2 separate regions of the Homo sapiens genome follow, and region 1 is linked to region 2. The links are contacts of gene promoters, found by promoter capture Hi-C in blood cells and fetal thymus (Javierre and others, 2016). All regions are on one chromosome and are shown on one strand. The core of a region is centred on a gene start or on the middle of the fragment in contact, and the rest is flanking DNA. Distances in the headings are between cores, read along the strand shown. Region 1 overlaps DCAF1 (DDB1 and CUL4 associated factor 1). Region 2 holds the start of C3orf18 (chromosome 3 open reading frame 18).

Evidence for each region. The method cuts DNA at HindIII sites, captures the fragments that hold promoters and counts their contacts. A CHiCAGO score of 5 or more calls a contact.
Region 1: a fragment that was not itself captured here is called in contact with the fragment with the promoter of C3orf18 in region 2 in 4 of 17 cell types (total B cells, naive CD4 T cells, naive CD8 T cells and 1 more); the score reaches 7.2 in total B cells.

What each region holds. Positions count from the first base shown.
Region 1 is chr3:51,427,279-51,431,788 of GRCh38, forward strand. DCAF1 (DDB1 and CUL4 associated factor 1) reads right to left here. Exons shown (of 25, transcript NM_001387579.1): 11 at 2,755-2,934; 12 at 1,983-2,192; 13 at 94-263. Among named protein-coding and RNA genes, the nearest start is that of RBM15B, 38 kb to the left of the region's middle. The HindIII fragment of the contact is 709 bases long and covers 1,736-2,444 here.
Region 2 is chr3:50,565,199-50,570,295 of GRCh38, forward strand. It overlaps C3orf18 (chromosome 3 open reading frame 18), which reads right to left and starts at 2,549. Exons shown (of 6, transcript NM_016210.5): 1 at 2,265-2,549; 2 at 808-896; 3 at 268-663. The coding sequence starts at 501. HEMK1 (HemK methyltransferase 1, mitochondrial release factors N(5)-glutamine) reads left to right here and starts at 4,324. Exons shown (of 11, transcript NM_016173.5): 1 at 4,324-4,376. RefSeq lists a silencer at 2,181-2,690 and an enhancer at 4,129-4,248. The HindIII fragment of the contact is 20,682 bases long and covers 1-5,097 here.

The sequences.
Region 1 (4,510 bases), core at 840-3,339, 860 kb after region 2:
AAATGTTTGTTAAGCATATACAATGTGCAAACCAACATCAACTTTAACAAAAAGATGCATCAAACTTCATTTGAAATCTCTCTCTGGTCCCACCTTGCATAATAGGTCTTCCAATTGCAGGCAATAGAAATAAGCTGCAACAAGAGTTGCACACAAGAAAGTTTGAGGAAAACTTCAGCTGGTTCCCAATATAGCTGCGCTGGGCCATATTCTATCAAAAATTCCATCATTTCCACAATCTGTTCATGAGTATATGAGCATGCCTATAAGGAGAGATATATAGTATTATTATTATATATAACTCTACATCTGCCTACTACCTCCTTGAGCACAGCTCACTGGCCAAGAGATTTTATTTTATTTACTTATTTCAAGACAGGGTCTCACTTTGCTGCCCAGGCTGGAGGGCAGTGGCTTGATCACGGCTCACTGTAGCCTCAATCTCCCAGGCTCAAGCTGCCCTCCTGTCTCAGCATCCCAAGTAGCTAGAACCACAGGCACATGCCACCACACCCAGCTAATTATTTTATTTTTTGTAGAGACAGGGTCTCATTTTGTTGCCCATGCTGGAGTGCAGTGGCATGATCATAGCTCACTGCAGCCCTGAACTCCTAGACTCAAGCGATCCTCCCACCTCAGCCTCCTCAAGTGCTGGAATTACAGGCATGAGCCACCATGCTTGGCCAAGGTTTTAATTATAAATTAAATAATAATACCTTTCAAATTCCACAATTCTTGAGTCAAAAGCCCATATGTGAAGTAATGACCATAGATTGCTTAATCTTTTATCTTATTTATAACTAGACTCACAATATGATTTGTCCAAAAAGATAACAAAAGTTTCCTTTGTGCATATAAGTTACAGCTTAAGAGAAAGAAGCATCATGTGACTGATTTCAATTTGTGACTTTTTTTTTTCTTGAGACTGGTTCTCACTCTGTTGCCCAGACTGGAGTGCCATAGCCCGATCACGTGCGGCCTCAAACCCCCAGACTCGAGTGACTCTCCCATCTCAGCCTCCCAAGTAGCTGACACAGGTGTACCACCATGCCCTTTTTTTTTTTTTTTTTTTTGAGACAGTCTCTGCCCAGACTGGAGTGCAGTGATATGATCGTAGCTCACTGCAGTCTTGAACTCCTGGGTTCAAATGATCCTCCCACCTCTGCCTCCCAAGTAGCTAGAACTACAGATGCACACCACAGGGCCCAGCCAATTTTTAAAATTTTTGTAAAGACAGGGTCTCACTATTGTTGCCCAGGCTGGTCTCAAGAAATCTGCTGGTGATTTTTTAAAAAACATGCAGCTACTCGTCATTATCCCAAAACATATCAAATTCCACAATGATAGTGAAGTGGAGTTATAAACACATTTTCAGAAAAGAAATTCTGCACAGAAGGCAAATCATCTAGTACTTTTCATACAAAAAAGCTCTTTGCCAGGTACAGTGGCTCACACCTGTAATTCTAGCACTTTGGGAGGTCGAGGTGGGAGGACTGCTTGAGTCCAGGAGTTCCAAGACCAGCCAGGACAACATAGTGAGACCCCCATCTCCACAAAAAAATTTAAAAATTAGCTGGGTGTGGTGGTGTGTGCCTATAGTCCCCCAACTACTCAGGAGGTTGAGGTGGGAGGATCACCTGAACCTGGGAGGTTAATGTTGCAATGAGGTGTGGTCACATCACTGCACTCCAGCCTGGGTGACAGAGGGAGACGTATCTCAAAAAGAAAAAAAGAAAGCTTTTTTATACACACTTCAGTTAATCTTTTAGTTCTAGAATCCCAGCAACTTACAACTGGAAGCAAAATAATTCCCTGAAATTCACCTATTACATCCATTTTTCAATTGTTCTGCCTTCATACAGGGAAGTATACTCCAACAATGGACATAGCACAGAGTCCACTGATCTGAATGTGAGTTTCAGGACTGAGATGCTACAGAGAGGGCTAACAGAACTTTCCCTTTCAAGGCAAGGTCCTCTCACCTTGTACGGGGGTTGTGGGTGGACAAGAATGCCACCCTCAGTCCTCTGAAGTGACTGCTTCACTTGTTCCAATTTAATGGCCAGGTGAGCCTCAAAGTATTTGCGCAAGGCCATGCAGGTATGTTTCCCAGTTTGGCGGCTAGCAAATATTTCATCATCACTCAGAAGTGCACCCTGATCTTCCAAATTTAGAATCTCCAAAGTACTGATCTATTAAGATGCAAAATATTGGGGCAAAAGAGGGGAAAAGGCAAGAAGAGTTAAGTAAAAATATTTAAAAAAGGGAAAATATTTTAGTAAACTTTTTTTACTTTCCATACATATTCTGCTTATGTATCAGTAAACTTTTATGCTTAACAAGACTGACAAATATCAACGCATATTTATGTATATCTATGTATATAGCATGCTAACAGTAGCTATATGAAAGCAAAACATTAAACTCATACCAAAAAATGAACAAGCTTTTAATCATATTAAAAAATGTACAGGAATAAAACTATTGCTTTTACAAAGATCAAGATCATCAACTGCCAATCCCCGTTATAAGATTACTATATCCAAGGCAAGTCTACAACGGCACAGTGTCCTCTAACTACTAAAGAAAAAGAGAAATTTGTGAAGAAAGGGAAAAAAAAAAAACTTCACAAAAAGAATGGCAGCAAAACTCCTCTAATCAGAAGCTTCCTTTCTTCAAGGGTGTGCCGTTAAAGGGCAGCCAAGACAACCAGGACCCTCAATCCTAGGGAGAAAAGCACTGAAAGAACCTCACCAAGTTCACCAGACGACGAAGACCATCATAGCGGTCAAAGAGCTCCAAGACGGCCCGAAATGAGAAGCAAATTGAAAAAAACATGGTAGCATGGCAGCATCCTGAAGCATGAGAACACTCCATTAACCACAGGGTATAGTTCACCACATCAGACAGAACATTGTGGGGATGCATGCAAACCTGCAAAAAAATACAAATAAAACAATGCTTTTAAATTGTGGGCAAAGGAGCCCTTGAACAGGATGGAAAATTTGCCAGTATAGATATCTGCAGAATACAATGACCATCTCCAATCAAGTCACTCTTAGTACAAAGTTTAGGTAATAATACAAAGGCAATTTTAGAACACGATCCATTCCAAACCTGAAAACGACCTAAATTTAGATAAATATTTAAATACAACCTATACTTACTGAGTGCCAACAAATATTTACATCATTTAATGCTCACGAGGGCTCCATTATACAGGTATTAGGATTCTCACTTAAAAGAAGAGGAAGAGGTAAGGAACTTCTCCAAATGTGATAAAAGTGGCTCAGATTTCTGATCCTAAGTCTAGGAGTTTGGTATTCATTCTCTGGTTAATTCACACACATTTTGATGTCTACTATGGGTCAGAAAATGAAACTGTAAAGCATCCCCAGGTTTCCTTGATATTTTTTTCTCTATCTTAGCCATAAGTAATTTTGTATGTACACACATAGATTAGTTTATTACTCCCAAAAGACTACCTATCTTGCATAAACACCAAAATAAAAACAAATTAAAACTGATATTATTAATAAGCAAAGATAAATAATGTCATAGCTCGAGAAGAAATTACCCATTTCACTCTACCAGAAAAGACACCAAATAAGAATATTAGAAAAATGTCCCAGAAATAGAAGTAACAAGAGCTTTGCTTTCCTAGGGGATCACAGGAGCCCATCGCTTTTCAAATGTATAACCCACAGCCTGGGCAAAATGGCAAAACCCTGCCTCTACAAAACACGCAAAAATTAGCCAGGTGTGGTGGTGTGCCCTTGTTGTCCCAGCTACTTGCGAGGATGGTTTGAACCCAGGAGGCCGAGGCTGCAGTGAGCCAAGATCATGCCACTGGACTCCAGCATAGGCGACAGAGCCAGACCCTGCCTCAAAACAAAAACAAAAACAAAAAACCACATACGTATGTGTAACCCATTTACACTTTTTAAAAAATCACAAGGCCAGGCACGGTGGCTTATGACTGTAATCCCAGTACTTTGGGAGGCTGAGGCGGGTGGATCACTTGAGGTCAGGAGTTCAGGACCAGCCTAGCCAACATGGTAAAACCCCGTCTCTACTGAAAAAAAAAAAAAATTAGCCAGGCATGGTGGCACGTGCCTGTGATCCCAGCTATTCAGGAGGCTGAGACAGGAGAATCACTTGAACCCAGGGGGCAGAGGTTGCAGTGAGCTGAGATCCCGCCTCTGCACTCCAGTCTGGGTGACAGAGCAAGATTCCGTCTCAAAAAAAAAAAAAAAAAAAGATTATATATGAAAGAGTCTTAACTACAAAAACAGTAGAACCAAATGGAAAACCTCTCTGCAGCCCTAGGAACAGTTGGGATGGTTTTATTATCTCCATAACAAACTATTTGTTAATATAAAACAAGCATCAGCTGAGTGTGGTAGCCCATGCCTATAATCTCAGCACTTTGGGAAGCCATGGTGGGAGGAGTACTTGAGTCCAGGCGTCGGAGACCAGCCTGGGCAACATGGTGAAACCCAATCTCTAC
Region 2 (5,097 bases), core at 1,299-3,798:
TCTACTAAAAATACAAAAATTAGCCGGGCGTGGCAGCTCACACCTGTAATCCCAGCTACTTGGGAGGCTGAGGCAGGAGACTCGATTAAGCCCCAGAGGTGGAGGTTGCAGTGAGCTGAGATCAAGCCATTGCACTCCAGCCTGCATGACAGAGCAAGACTCTGTCTCAAAAACAACAATAACAACAACCAGATTGTCTTCTGATTGATTAGGTTCTCTATAAATCTAAACACTGATTATCCTCCCCCAGCCTACCCCAGCTCTCACCAAGGCCACAGCCAGGCCTATCACCGTGATGATCCCAAAGGACAGAAGCATGGTACCCACGCCGGCCGTGCCACCAGCTGCATCAGGGATTCTGGTGTCATTAAAGGTGGTGGCCTCTGGGCTGAGGGTAGTGGTCTCGGAGGCTGGCCCATCTGTGGCAGGTTCCAGGTCAGACTCAGAGGTGGGTGGGCGGCTGCTGAACCAGCCCCTAGCAGATGCGGTCCTGGAGTTCATGCTGATGCGGAGAGGGCCCTGGCTGAGAGGCTGCCTGATGCCAGTCAACCTGCCCACTCACTCCTGACTCCGGAGTGCCCCAGCCTGTGGTTCCTGCCACCTGTGGTGGCCACCTGCACAGCCACCTCCTTGGATAAAGGGAGCCCCCTGCCTTCCTGGGTGCTAGAAAGGAAAGAATAAGAAACATGAGGCTAAGGACAGGGGCTCAGTAGTGAGATGAAGTCTCTCTAGGTTCTGAAAGCACTGGGGAGGTAAAGGTTTGAGGGCAAGAATGAGGGTAAGTTCAGGAGACATTAGGACACATACTTTACGTATCTACGGTGCCCCTGTTTTTGGGAACAAAAATGAAGCCCTGCATCCTCTGTCTGTGGGTGAGATGATCATAGTGATCAAACCTGGAAGATATGAAAGGCAGCGGGGATGTTTGAAAGAAAAAGTCTCCCTCCCCTGATCAAAAACTCCCCTCAACCTGCGTCCCCATATCCCCCACCTCCCCATATCCACCTCCTCATTCCCTGCCTCCCACATCCCTCATCCTGCTTGGGGGAAAAAATACCACAGCTTTTTCCTTTCCTGGAGGGAAACACTTGCCCAAGAGTCAGACAGGCCTGTCTTTGAAACCTAGCTCAGCTGCTTAACTAGTGATCCCTAGAAAGTCACTCCACCTCTCTGTGTCTCCGTTTTCCTGAGTCTAAGGTGGGGATATTGAGAACATCCCCACAGGGTCATGGGGTTACAGAAATGGCAGAACAAACAGGTGTCGAAGAAAGACTTAGCTCAGCACAACCCCCATCCACAGTAAGCATCCACTACATGTTAGATTTTCTCCCCATGGCCAACCCAGTCACAAAGGGGAGCCAAGGGAGCCCCTGGACCCAGTCCACTGTATGGTCCAGACTATGCTTGGAGTGTGGGTGGAGGCTGATGTGGAAAGACCAGAAGACAAGAAGGAGAGAGAGGCTCTGGTTCTCTGGCGGGGCTTCTCCGCAGGCTCTCGGGGACATTGGACTGCCCTCCCCACCCACCAACAATAGAGGGGCTGCTAGGGTCAAGGAGAAAGGCGAGGCAGGAATGGAGCTCCCAGTGTGGGTGCCTTCTCTTCCTTTACCCTCCTCCCCTGGAAGCAGAGGGTGAGAGATTTGCCCAGTGCAGAGGGCCCTGGTTAAGGTGGGGTGGGAAGAGGTGCCAGCCAAGCTGCAGATGGGACGGCCTAGGGAGAGGAGGGATACCTAGCTCGTGGGTGCATACATCCCCCTGTGCTGGTTCATGGGCATTAGTGGGGTTGCCTCCCTGTGCAGATGCATGGGCGTGTGTGAGATGTGTAAACACCTCTGATGGTCCCTGAGGAAGGGGCAAGGCTGGCAGAGGGTTATGGGGTAGAAAGGCTCATCCCTCTTTGCCTTCTCCCTCCAGCTAGGCTGGGCACATCTGGGCACATAGGAAGTCCCGGGTTCTTTTCTTGGCTTTGCAACTGATCCCGGGCGTGACCTTGGGCCAAACCCTTAACTCGTGCCCTGGGGCTCTGTTAACATCGCCTCCCAAAGGAGAGAAGAGGCCCTACTGACCACTTTCCAGGCCTGCCTCAGGGTCCAAAGGGGAAGGGAAGGAAACCGGGGTAAAAGGGGTCGGCACCGCGACCTTCGAGAACCCGCATGCTGTTCTCCACCAGGTCTCTCAGTCCTCCCTGCCCCAATCCCCATGCCCGCCTCCGCGACCCTGTGATGCCTCCCTTCTTGCACAGGAGCAGTGACCTCAGCACTTACTTAATCCTCTCCCGGCGCCGAGCTCAGTTGGAGAGGCTAGGGGTGGTAGTGACTGGCAGGAGGCCGGGGCGGGGGGAACCCCCAAGCCCGGCGTCTGGGGCTGCGGGTCCGACCCGAGATCCGCCCTCCCTGCAAGCCCCGAGCCGCTGGCCAGGCCCGCTACTGCGCACCAGCCGCATCCGCGAGCGCTGGCTCTGCCGGCCTGAGCTAGGGTGGGTAGGGCCGGGACCCACGGCGGAGGTGGGGCCGGGCCGAGCAGCCTCGGGGGATCCCCGAAGCTACAGCGCCTTGCCTCCCTGCACGCTCCGCGCCCCCGGCCTCCGATTGGCTGTCGGGCCTAGAGCCCGCCCAGAATTGGACCGTTCGCTTGTCGCTCGGGTCTGGCTCCACCCCCAGAGGGAGCCTAGAACCTGGTCGCAGTTTTTAGAGACTACCCTCACCCCGTGGCCTGCGCCGAAGTTGGGCGGAGGACAGTGGGTGGCCAGGCCCTTCCGGGCCAGAACTCGGGACCCCTGCCAGCTACCCGTGCCAGGACAGACTCAAGCCCCCAAAACGCGGATGGATGTACAGAGGAGACTTGGGGAGAGCACTGGACTGGGAGTCCTTGGGCCTGCACTGAACTCTGGCTGACTTTGTGACCTTGAAGAAACTGCTTTTCCCTTCCTGAACCTTGGCTTTCTACTCAGACGGGTCCTCTGGTGTGAGGGTTCTAGACGAAGATGGGGAATCTTCGTCTACAGAAGTTGAGAGTGGGGTGGATTTATTATTGGGCACCCCGACCCAGGCAAGTCTACATATACCCTCACAATAGCTTCCATCCACGGCATGATCAGCTCAGGGAAGGAGCCCTCAGATACTCCTGATCCGCCGGTTTTCAAAGTAGTTTATGGGAGTCACCGGGTAGCCTGGTACAAATGCAAACGCCCCTGTGTCTCCCGGTCTGGGAAGGAGGCAGGGAAACAGCATGTTTAATAGCAGTTTAAGGCCGGGCGTGGTGGCTCACTCCTGTAATCCCAGCACTTTGAGAGGCCGAGGCGATGGATCACCTGAAGTCAGGAGTTCGAGACCAGCCTGACCAACATGGTGAAACCCTGTCTCTATTAAAAATACAGAATTAGCCGGTCGTGTTGGCTCACGCCTGTAATCCCAGCTACTTGGGAGGCTGAGGCAGGAGAATGGCTTGAACCCGGAGGCCGAGGTTGCAGTGAGCAGAGATCGCGCCATTGTACTTCAGCCTGCGCAACAAGAGCAAAACTCCGTCTCAAAAAAAAAAAAAAAAAAAAAGAAAAAAAGAAAAAAAAAGTAGTTAACAGTGTTCTAGTTAACAGTACTTTCTGGTGGGGAGATGTTGACAAGACACACTTTGCGAGACGCTGCCGAGTATTTTATAGAAGGCGCAACTGAGGTCCAGAGGTCCCAACACCTGGAGGAGTTGCCAATAGAGTCAAGATTCGAATCGGTAAAAGAGCGGCCCCTGGGGTCTGGCCGCCAGTCGGCCGACCCCCTGGTGGGCTCGGGCCACTGACCTCGGTAGGGTCACGACACTGGGACTGGACCCCAAAGTTGGACCAGCCTTCAACACTGGAACCCGCCCATGCACAGCTCCACCCGGCCCCCAGGCTAAGATAGACCACGCCCCCGGACATCTGGTCCCCGCCGGAACACCCGGGCCCTCTGGTGACACGCCCCCTTTCCGGCAGGCTACTGGGCTCCGCCCACACACCTCCCGGCCTGGTTCCTAAACGCCAGCTCGGAGCAATCCCCTTGGGCTGGAGCCAAATCCCTGCTGTGATTTTAAGGAAGACCGGCAGGTCCGGGCCCCCAAGGGTCAACCCCACACACATCCCCGCACTTTCCTGTATGCAGGCCTGCGAGCGTAGAGGGAGTGGAATTCACAGCCTCCCCACCCATCCGCAGGGGTCTCCTGGGAGGAACCCACCAGCGATAGGAACACTGAAGCTGGGCTACGGCGTCCGCCCGAGCCTTTTCTTAAAGGCGCCGACCCCGGAAGCGGGGCGTCCGAGGGAGCGCGCGACGGGCCACGCACGTCCGGGCGTCCAGTTCGGGGCAGCTTCTCCGGCTGGTGGGTGGGTGGGGCAGCCTTTCAGGCAGGTATGCATGGGAGGTGGGGATCGGAACGGGGTGTTTCGACTGCAACCGCCTGGAGACCTGGCCGGTACCATTCTCCATAGTGCAGATGGGGAAACAGGGTTGGAGAGAGGGGGCCTCATCTGGGTCGTTAACAATGCGGTGCGTAGCTGTGAGGGAGTTTACACTTCTGACTTCGGGCCTTGGCTCCTGGGACGGCGCACTGGTGCAAGAGCCGCTTCTGGAGTCTGGTGGACTCGGGTTCGTGTCTTGCCTGGGACAGTCTTTTTTTTCTTTTTTTTGAGACGGAGTCTCTCTCTGGCACCCAGGCTGGAGTGCAGTGGCATGACCGCGGCTCGCTGCAACTTCCGCCTGCTTGAACTGGGTTCAAGCAGTTCTCCTGCCTCAGCCTCCCAAGTAGCTGGGACTACAGGTGCGCGTCAGTATGCCCGGCCAATTTTTTGTATTTTTAGTAGAGACAGGGTTTCACCATGCTGGCCAGGCTGGTCTCGAACTCCTGACCTCGTGATCCGCCCACCTCGGCCTCCCAGAGTGCTGGGATTACAGGCGTGAGCCACCGTGCCCAGCTTGCCTGGGACAGTTTCTACCTGAGTGACGCTGGGCAAGTCGCTTCCCTTCTCTGACCCTACTTGTATCTGAAGATGTGGCACTTAGCAGGTGCTTAATAAACGCTAGTTTGGACTTTTATCTGGAAGCAAAGGGGACCGCTGATTTTAAACCTTCA